2 separate regions of the Homo sapiens genome follow, and region 2 is linked to region 1. The links are contacts of gene promoters, found by promoter capture Hi-C in human tissues and cell types (Jung and others, 2019). All regions are on one chromosome and are shown on one strand. Each heading gives the region's core, a stretch centred on a gene start or on the middle of the fragment in contact. The rest is flanking DNA. Distances are from core to core; before and after follow the strand shown.

Region 1 (4,611 bases), core at 1,343-3,842:
TCCCAGGAGACACTGTACTGTGCCCCACTGTGTGCTTGAATTTTTTTTTTTTTTTTGGGACGGAGTCTTGCTCTGTCACCCAGGCTGGAGTGCAGTGGCGTGATCTCAGCTCACTGCAAGCTCTGCCTCCTAGGTTCACGCCATTCTCCTGCCTCAGCCTCCTGAGTAGCTGGGACTACAGGCGCCCGCCACCATGCCCGGCTAATTTTTTGTATTTTTAGTAGAGATGGGGTTTCATCACATTAGCCAGGATGATCTCGATCTCCTGACCTCGTGATCCGCCCGCCTCGGCCTCCCAAAGTGTTGGGATTACAGGCGTGAGCCACCGCACCTGGCCTGTGTGCCTGAATTTCTAAGCCCTTTTCTGCCTAAACTTTAACATGCTTGCAGCTCTTATACCTGGTGTTTTTCCCCATTGCAATACTTTAGAATAAACTCTCTTTTTTTTTTTTTTCTTTTTCAAACTGAGTCTCCCTCTGTCACCCAGGCTGGAGTGCAGTGGCACCATCTCAGCTCACTGCAACCTCCACCTCCTGGCCTCAAGCGATTCTCCTGCCTCAGCCTCCTGAGTAGCTGGGATTACAGGCATGCACCACCAGACTGGGCTAATTTTTGTATTTTTAGTAGAGACAGTGTTTTGCCATACTGGCAAGGCTGGTCTCAAACTCCTGACCTCAAGTGATCTGCCTCCCTTGGCCTCCCAAAATGCTGGGATTACAGGCGTGGGCCACCACGCCCAGCCAACTCTCTTCTTACATAATTCTGATGATGGTGCTTTTCTGGTTCTTGCACCACCTCACTGGGGTGGGTATTCCTTGTCCTTTGAGATAGTTTTTCTCCTTTCCCAAGTCCGAGAAAATCCAGAGCGCAGGAATCATTTCTAGATTTTTCCCTTAATACCAGCATCTGACTGGCTGCCACCAACGTGTCTCCAAGGAATGATGAAAACTGGGGTTGGAGGAAGAAAATCCCAATGCACCAGGGATTTGTTTTTTAAACGAAGAGTATACTAGGAGACGTCTCTCAACTCCAGGGCACCCAGATGCTGCCTGGAGAGGCTCTACTTCCATATTTTAAACTGTCCTCTGTGAGGAGATGACCCAGGAGAAGGTATTCATTAGACACTCCAAGAGATCTGGCTGCTAAACAGAGGACCAAGAAAAGATATAAGGGTGGCTGAGGACATATCACCCTCTAAAGTTTCCAAAAGGGAACTTCACCCCAAAGATACTCTGGTAAGATGTGCACACTCAAAAAAGATAAAATTAGGAGATGCACAAAGACTTTTTTTTTCTACAATTAACTGTCAGGTGATTATTTTCTGCTTTCCACTCATGTGTAATGTTCAGAAATATTTTAAGAGTGAAAACAAATATTTTCAGAACGACTCACTACTCTGAAAAAAATAACACACTTCATCTGTATGAAATGTACAATAAAAGACAAATACTTGATAATGTTGCATTTGAATATAGGAAAAGAATTGGAAATTTAGGGTTTTACTACAAGCCCCAGAAGAGTTAGGCTGTGGGAACAGGGTCGTTGATGTGAGATCCTGTTGCCATACACTTAGAAATGTGGAGTGTTATGTGAAAATAATTAAACACAGGCACTAGGGAGACTGAGGTGGGGGGATCGCTTGAGCCCGAGTCCAAGACTCCATCATACACATGTACATACACACATGAATGAATAAACAACCAACCAAAACGTAACTCATGCTTGTCTTGTAAATTAATAACTTAAAGGGAAACAAAACAGCCTTAAACAACCACGAACCCACCAATTAACCTCTGGTTACATAACCAGGAGATATCTGGCTGCACAGTCTATATGGGGTGACTACATAACTGTACACGATCAATTATTTAATTGGGTTTGCTTCCTCGGGTTCCTTACAAAAAACCCTTTCCTTCCCCAAACCACAAACCACGCTGGTGGCTTCCTAACTCACGACTCTCTGCTCAAATAAACTCCTTAATATTTTAACGGCGCCTCAGTTTTCTTTCTAACAGGAGAAAGGAGGATTTGGAGACTTCACAGACCACAGCTCCTCCCACGCAGGAACCCCGAACCCCAAGTCGGGACTCTCCCCTGAGGACCCTCCCGTCGGCACCGCACGATCCGAGGGAGATGCGGGTCTACAGAGGCAGAGCTGCCCAGAAAGGGTTCCGGGCCTGGCCGAAGCGGCGGGGCAGGGACAAGCCAGGCGGCCCGGGGTCTGGCTGCGGGTCCAGCCCCGCATCCTGTGCCACTAAGGCCGCGAGGCGCCGGCGGAAACTCGGGTCGGCACCGCGGGGAGGTCCGGGTTCGCCACAACCGCTTCCTGGCGGTTCCCTTTTCCCCTTCCCGAGACACCTGGCCGGCACACTCACCATTTCCCAGTCTCCGGTGTCTGGGGTCCTCCCTAAGGACCTTCCGGGACCTGCAGGTCCCAGAGCAACAGAAGCTGCCGCGGGACCACTTGGACCTCCCAGGGATAAGGGGAAGGAGCAGCGGAGACGCACCGAGCTCGCCACATTCGCGCTGCCCAACACAAAAGCCGCGCCAGGTCCCGGAAGCTGCTCCCTCCTTTCGCGGCGCGCTTGAGAGTACAGTCCCCTTCCCAGCGCCCGATTGGACAGGGCCTTAGGCCCCGCCCCTTCAGTCCTGAGTGACGGGAGATGCAATCAGACACGGCGCTGAGTGAGGCCAGGTTCTTTCCCTGCAGTCCTTTTCTAAGGCATGGATTCTGCCCTGTGCTGAGACCTGGCGCCCCCCGGGGGACTTTCCCATTCAAGCTCATACACAGGATTATGTCCATTTATGAGTAATATTTGTGATATTTACAATTGGAAACACTATGATGACAATTATTCTAAAATTTCAGATTTCACAACCTTCCTGGCCTCTGGTCTTTTGAGGAGGCAGCCTGAATTTTTTTTTTTTTCTTGCTTCTAGTGGGATTAGAGGCAGCTTGAATTTTGAAAAGACAATGTCCTCTCAGGTAGCAACGCCCCATAGAAATAAAATGTGAGCCGCGTGTGTTCCAGTAGCAATAGAAAAGAAAACAACACGTGAAATTGATTACAATGATTTATTTAACCAAATATATCCAAAAATATTGTTTCAATATATGATCGATGTTAAGCTCGCGCCTAATTGAAGAGACTACCCAAACAGGTTAAGTGTGAGCAGCAAGGCTAGTTTACTCACTCGGGTGCGAGCGGGCTGAGTCCGAAAAGAGGGTCAGCGGAGGGTCGTGGGATTGGAGTTAGTTTTATAGGTGAGGGGTAAGCAGTGGAAAGTTACAGTCAGGGGCCGTTTATTACCGGCGGGGGAAGAATGTCACAAAGTACATTGTCACAAGAGGGAGGGGTCACAGTGTCACTAGGCTGATTGATCAGTTAGGGTAGTGCACGTCACAACGGTAAAATGCTGCAAGGTTGGCTAATCAGCTAAGACAGAAACTAGCCGTTTTTCTTCCTTTGTGGTTTTCCTGTTGTCCCAGACTTTCTGGCTCCAGGACCTTCTGGATGTACACGTGTGGGTCACAGGGATCACAATGGCTTGACCATGGCGCAGCCTGCTCAGACGGCCTTACAATCGATATATTATTAATGAAAAATCACTCTATATATTAAGCTTCCAGCATGTTTCAATTCAGCCTGCACATTTGGATACACGTGTCTGGTTTTACCACTTTATTTTAAGGTTGTTCGGGAATGTCTGCCTGTTCCTTTCATGTAACTGTTCATTATTTATTGATTACTATTTCTTAATTTCACTTATCTCAGTGAGAGTTGCCAAATAGTGGTTTTCTAATTATTTTCTCTACAGGTATTAGTTCTCATTCTTCTATTAAAAATGGCGTTTTCTCATGAACTCTCTCCATTACATTAAAACCTACCCTATTAGGAAAGGAAGAATAAAAGCTTGATTCTCCCTTTAATCAATTGTCATAACAATGACGGCGTGGCCTCAGCAAACAAAAAAAATGTGAGTGACTTTTTTCTAACCTTATTTTTTGTGTATTTAATGAGATTCCATACACTGCAGTCTGTATCTATTTTTTGAGCTCAAATTATCCCTTTTTTTTTTTTTTTTTTTTGAGACCGAGTCTCACTCTGTTGCCCAGGCTGGAGTGCAGTGTGGCATGATCTCGGCTCACTGCAACCTCTGCCCCCCGGATTCAAGCGATTCTCGTGCCTCAGCCTCCTGAGTAGCTGGGATTACTGGCACCCACCACAACGCCTGATTAATTTTTGTATTTTTACTAGAGACAGGCTTTCACCATATTGGCCAGGCTGGTCTGGAACTCCTGACCTCAGGTGATCCACCCACCTCGGCCTCCGAAAGTGCTGGGATTACAGGCGTGAGCCACCGCGCCCGGCCAAATTGTCCCATCGTAAGTGAGGGGCTCTATACATTGCCTCCTTTGTCCTTGTACCATATGTTTTGAGAGCTTTCTTATTTTCTGGAGCAGACAGAAACTGTGTGCTTCCCTTTTTCTGTTATATACGTTGCAAAAAGATGACCATTTGGCATTTTCCTTTTTACTTGGCTTATGGCGTTTCCTAACACTCACAATATTCTGGTTTTATATTGTATCTTTATCAATGTTTTAATTTA
Region 2 (4,611 bases), core at 692-3,191, 290 kb after region 1:
TGGGGTGGGAGCCCCCACACAGAGTCCCTACTGGGGCACCACCTAGTGAAGCTGTGAGAAAAGGGCTACCATCCTCCAGACCTCAGAATGCTAGATCCACCAACACCTTCCACCATGCACCTGGAAAAGCTGCAGACACTCAACACCATCCTATGAAAGCAGCCGGGAGGGAGGCTGTATCCTGCAAAGCCACAGAGGCAGAGCTGCCCAAGACCATGGGAACCCACCACTTGCAGTAGTGTGACCTGGATGTGAGACCTGGAGTCAAAGGAGATCATTTTGGGAGCTTTAAAATTTGACTGCCTTGCTGGATTTCAGACTTGAATGGGCCCTGTAACCCCTTTGTTTTGGCCAATTTCCCCCATTTGGAACGGCTGTATTCACCCAATACCAGTACCCCCATTGTATCTAGGAAGTAACCAGTTGACTTTTGATTTTACAGGCTCATAGGTGGAAGGGACTTTCCTTTTCTCAGATGAGGCTTTGGACTATGGACTTTTGGGTTAATGCTGAAATGAGTTAAGACTTTGGGGGACTGTTGGGAAGGCATGATTGGTTTTGAAATGTGAGGACATGAGATTTGGAGCCACCAGGGGTGGAATGATATGGTTTTGCCATGCCTCTACCCAAATCTTAACTTGAATTGTACCTCTCAGATTTCCCACATGTTGTGGGAGGGACCCAAGGGGAAGTAATTGAATCACGGGGGCTGGTCTTTTCAATGCTATTCTCGTGATAGTGAATAAGTCTCACAAGATCTGATGGATTTATCAGGGGTTTCTACTTTTGCTTCTTCCTCATTTTCTCTTGCTGCTGCCATGTAAGAAGTGGCTTTTGCCCTTTGCCATGATTCTGAGGCTTCCCCAGCCCATGTGGAACTGTAAGTCCAATTAAACCTCTTTTTCTTCCCAGTCTTGGGTATGTCTTTGTAAGCAGAGTGAAAATGGACTAATACAACTGACCAACACACATGACCCAAAAGTCCCAAAAGTCATGCCACTCCCCCAACCACTCCCCGGGTTGGTAGAGACCAAGCAAGAGTGCTCCCCACTTGGTCACAAGTCAGGCTCTTGAGAGCCTGACATAAAAGATATTAAGCAAGATGAGAGGGAATCTTTATGACAGCAAGACAGAGACACAGGAAAAAAAAGAATGTTTCTGAAAGGAAAAAGATCAGACAACATGAAATAGTCATACCAAAAATAAACCAGCGTTTGTGTGTCTAAAATTAGCCTGTATAAATGCTTTTCTTGGCTGGGTGCAGTGGCTCACCCTGTAATTCCAGTACTTTGGGAGGCCAAGGCAGGAGGATTCCTTGAGTCCAGATGTCAGATATATTTGAACAAGAGGGACTCCATCTTGAAGATGGGCTGGGTAAAAAAAAGCTGAGAACTGCTGGGCTCCCAGGAGCTTAGGCATTCTTAGTCACAGGATGAGTTAGGAGGTCAGCACAAGATACAGGTCACAACAACCCCACTGATAAAGCAGGATGTGGTAAAGAAGCCGGCCAAAACCCACCAGAACCAGGATGCTGATGAAAGTGACCTCTGGTAATCCTCACTGCTCATTATGTGATACTTATTATAAGGCATTAGCGTGTTAAAAGACACTCCCACCAGCACCACCACAGTTTACAAATACCATGGCAACATCCAGAAGTTACCCTATATGGTCTGAAAGTGGGGAGGAACCCTCAGTTCCTGGAAATCCAGTCCTCTTTCCCGGAAAACTCATGAATAATTCACCCCTTGTTTAGCATACAATCAAGAAATAACTGTAGGTATACTCGGTTGAGCAGCTCACACCACGGCTGTACCTATGCAGTAGCCATTCTTTTGTTTCTTTTACTTCCCTAATAAACTTGCTTTTACTTTACTCTATGGACTCGCCCTGTATTCTTTCTTGTGGGAGGTCCAGTAACCCTCTCTTGGGGTCTAGATTGGGACCCCTTTCCAGTAACACAGGAGTTTGAGGCCAGCCTCAACAACTGAGACTCCATCTCTACAAAAAAATCAAAAAGTTAGCAGGGAATGGTGGAGTGCACCTATGGTCCCAGCTACACAGGAAGCTGAGGCAGGAGGATCCCTCGAGTCCAGGAGGTTAAGTCTGCAGTGAGCCATGACTGTCCCGCTGCACTCCAGCCTGGGCAACAGAGCTGATTCTAAATAAATAAATAAATTCTTTCTTTCCATTTATCTTAAATTTGGAAAAGGAAAAGGAAACAGTTTTACTGTCTGCTTGATTGGATTGCACAGACAGATGCTGTTTGAAATGTTTCTTCCTTGGTGCGGTAAAGAAATAGCACTTGAACATGAATTTAATTTATTTAGTAAGGCCATTTTTACTTCTTGCAGAAAGGGTACACTCATCAGCAGTTTTGCCATGAGAGTGCATTGAACAAAGGAGACAGGGTCATTTATAACCTGACGCGTCCTCCCTACTGCTGTGTCTGGTTTCCACTGGCTGGAGCGGGACCTCACATTCTGTATTTGTCTCGATTGGCTAGCAACTTAGAACTTTTTAAAAGAGGCAAAGGTAGAGGGGAACAAAGGAAAGAGGAAGTAACTGGTGGAATGCTGAGAAAGGTAAAAACACCTTCAAATAAGGAAGAGGAACAGGCTGTGACCTAATGCTTACTTGGACCAGTATAAGCATGCCAGGGCAGATATTTAGGCTAAATTGTGGGAGCTAAGAACATAAAGAACATTGATTTCTTTATTACGGCTAGCAGATATTTAAGAATGTTAGCACAGGTCTTTGAATAAATTTTGCTTCTAATAGAAGTTACTATTTATTCCTAATTAGATGGGGAGGAAAGTCTTTGAAGAGGAACCTCTACTTTACTTTTTACAGATGCCAAGAATCTAACTACTCCCAAATTCTTCCCCTTCTGCTGGCCTGTCAGGCCCCAGGTTCCTTGGACTCCTGGCTTCAGAAGAGCTAAACAGTTTTGGTGATCCTGCTCACAGCGCCAAATCTGTAGGGGCCAAGAGAAAGCTGCTTCACTCTCTGAAGTTTTGCTGCAAAATCAACTGACAATAGGCAGATTAACAGGGAGATAAGCATACAAAATTTTATTTTAACTCACATAGCATGGGTAATTGTAGGAGAATGATTACTGTGCCACTGGCTTTTTTTTTTTTTTTTTAAGACGGAGTCTCCCTTTGTCGCCAGGCTAGAGTGCAGTGGCGCGATCTCCACTCACTGCAACCTCCGACTCCCTGGTTCAAGTGATTCTCCTGCCTCAGCCTTCTGAGTAGCTGGGACTGCAGGCATGCGCCATTACGCCCAGCTAATTTTTGTATTTTTAGTAGAGACGGGGTTTCACCATGTTGGCCAGGATGGTCTCCATCTCCTGATCTCGTGATCCTTCTGCCTGGACCTCCCAAAGTGCTGGGATTACAGGTGTGAGCCACCGTACCTGGCCCAGTATCTCTTTTGTTACTTGGTTATTTCACTTGGCATAGTGTCCTCAAGATTTATCCCTATTGTCCATATAACAAAATTTTGAATTTTTTTTTTTTGAGACAGAGTCTGGCTCTGTCGCCCAGGCTGGAGTGCAGTGGTGCGATCTCGGCTCACTGCAAGCTCCGCCTCCCGGGTTCACGACATTCTCCTGCCTCAACCTCTGAGTACCTGGGACTACAGGCGCCCGCCACCACGCCCGGCTAATTTTTTGTATTTTTAGTAGAGACGGGGTTTCACCGTGTTAGCCAGGATGGTCTCGATCTCCTGACCTTGTGATCCACCCGCCTTGGGCTCCCAAAGTGCTGGGATTATAGGTGTGAGCCACCGCGCCTGGCCAATTTCGTCTTTTAAAAGCTGAATGAGTATTCAGTTATTTGTGTTTTTCAAATTGTCCTTATCCGTTTTTTCATCGAGGGAGTTTGGTTGCCCCCACTGTATTTTAATGCAAAACAAAAGGAAAATTTCCCAGGTTGAGAGGAGCAGTAAAGCCTGAAGTATCACTCTCTGCCCAGACCTCAGTGGTGGGCTTGCTTTGAGCATTCTTAGGCAGCCCCACTTCCCTTAGGCACTTCCCTTCCCTTTGTTGATTAAAGAAGAAACTGAGGCAAAATTAATATAAGTGGAGTTTATTTGGGCCAAGTTTGAGGACTGTAAGCCGGGAGAGATAGATTCAAGTTGCTCTGAATATATCCTCCAATTAGCAGCAGTTGCAAGTGAGTTTTTAAAGGATGAAAGAGGCAGTTCCTCAGCTGTTTATAAAAAATTTACATTAAAATAACATAAGCTATTGGTTAGCTATACATTTTTCTTTGTATCACAAACGCTAGCAACATGGAGATAATAGGTGATGCAGCTAGTCAGGAACAAAATGCCTTTAAACAACTGCCCCCGCCTTGCCCCCGCCCCCCCATACTGCTGTCTCTCTGAGCCTGATAAATTTTGTATGCCTCCCGGGGAATTGTTTGAACCCGGGAGGCAGGGGCTGCAGAGAGCCTCGATTACATCACTGCGCTCCAGCCTAGGTCACAGAGCAAGACTCTGTCTCAAAATAAATAAATAAATAAATGTTGTATGCCTTACATAACTCAGAATGTTCTCAGCTACTCTCTCTTCTCACCTCCAGGAATGGGAAAGTGAAGATGC

Evidence for each region. The method cuts DNA at HindIII sites, captures the fragments that hold promoters and counts their contacts. A contact is called where the count stands out against the background at its distance.
Region 2: a contact is called between a fragment that was not itself captured here and the fragment with the promoter of ZNF670 in region 1, in 1 of the 25 tissues and cell types used here (bladder).

What each region holds. Positions count from the first base shown.
Region 1 is chr1:247,076,219-247,080,829 of GRCh38, forward strand. ZNF670 (zinc finger protein 670) reads right to left here and starts at 2,593. Exons shown (of 4, transcript NM_033213.5): 1 at 2,376-2,593. The coding sequence starts at 2,378. ZNF670-ZNF695 (ZNF670-ZNF695 readthrough (NMD candidate)) reads right to left here and starts at 2,593. Exons shown (of 7, transcript NR_037894.2): 1 at 2,376-2,593. RefSeq lists silencers at 2,456-2,769, 2,558-2,627. The HindIII fragment of the contact is 11,562 bases long and covers 1-4,611 here.
Region 2 is chr1:247,366,581-247,371,191 of GRCh38, forward strand. All of the region lies in intron 1 of ZNF496-DT (ZNF496 divergent transcript), which reads left to right. Among named protein-coding and RNA genes, the nearest start is that of ZNF496-DT, 37 kb to the left of the region's middle. The HindIII fragment of the contact is 9,484 bases long and covers 1-4,611 here.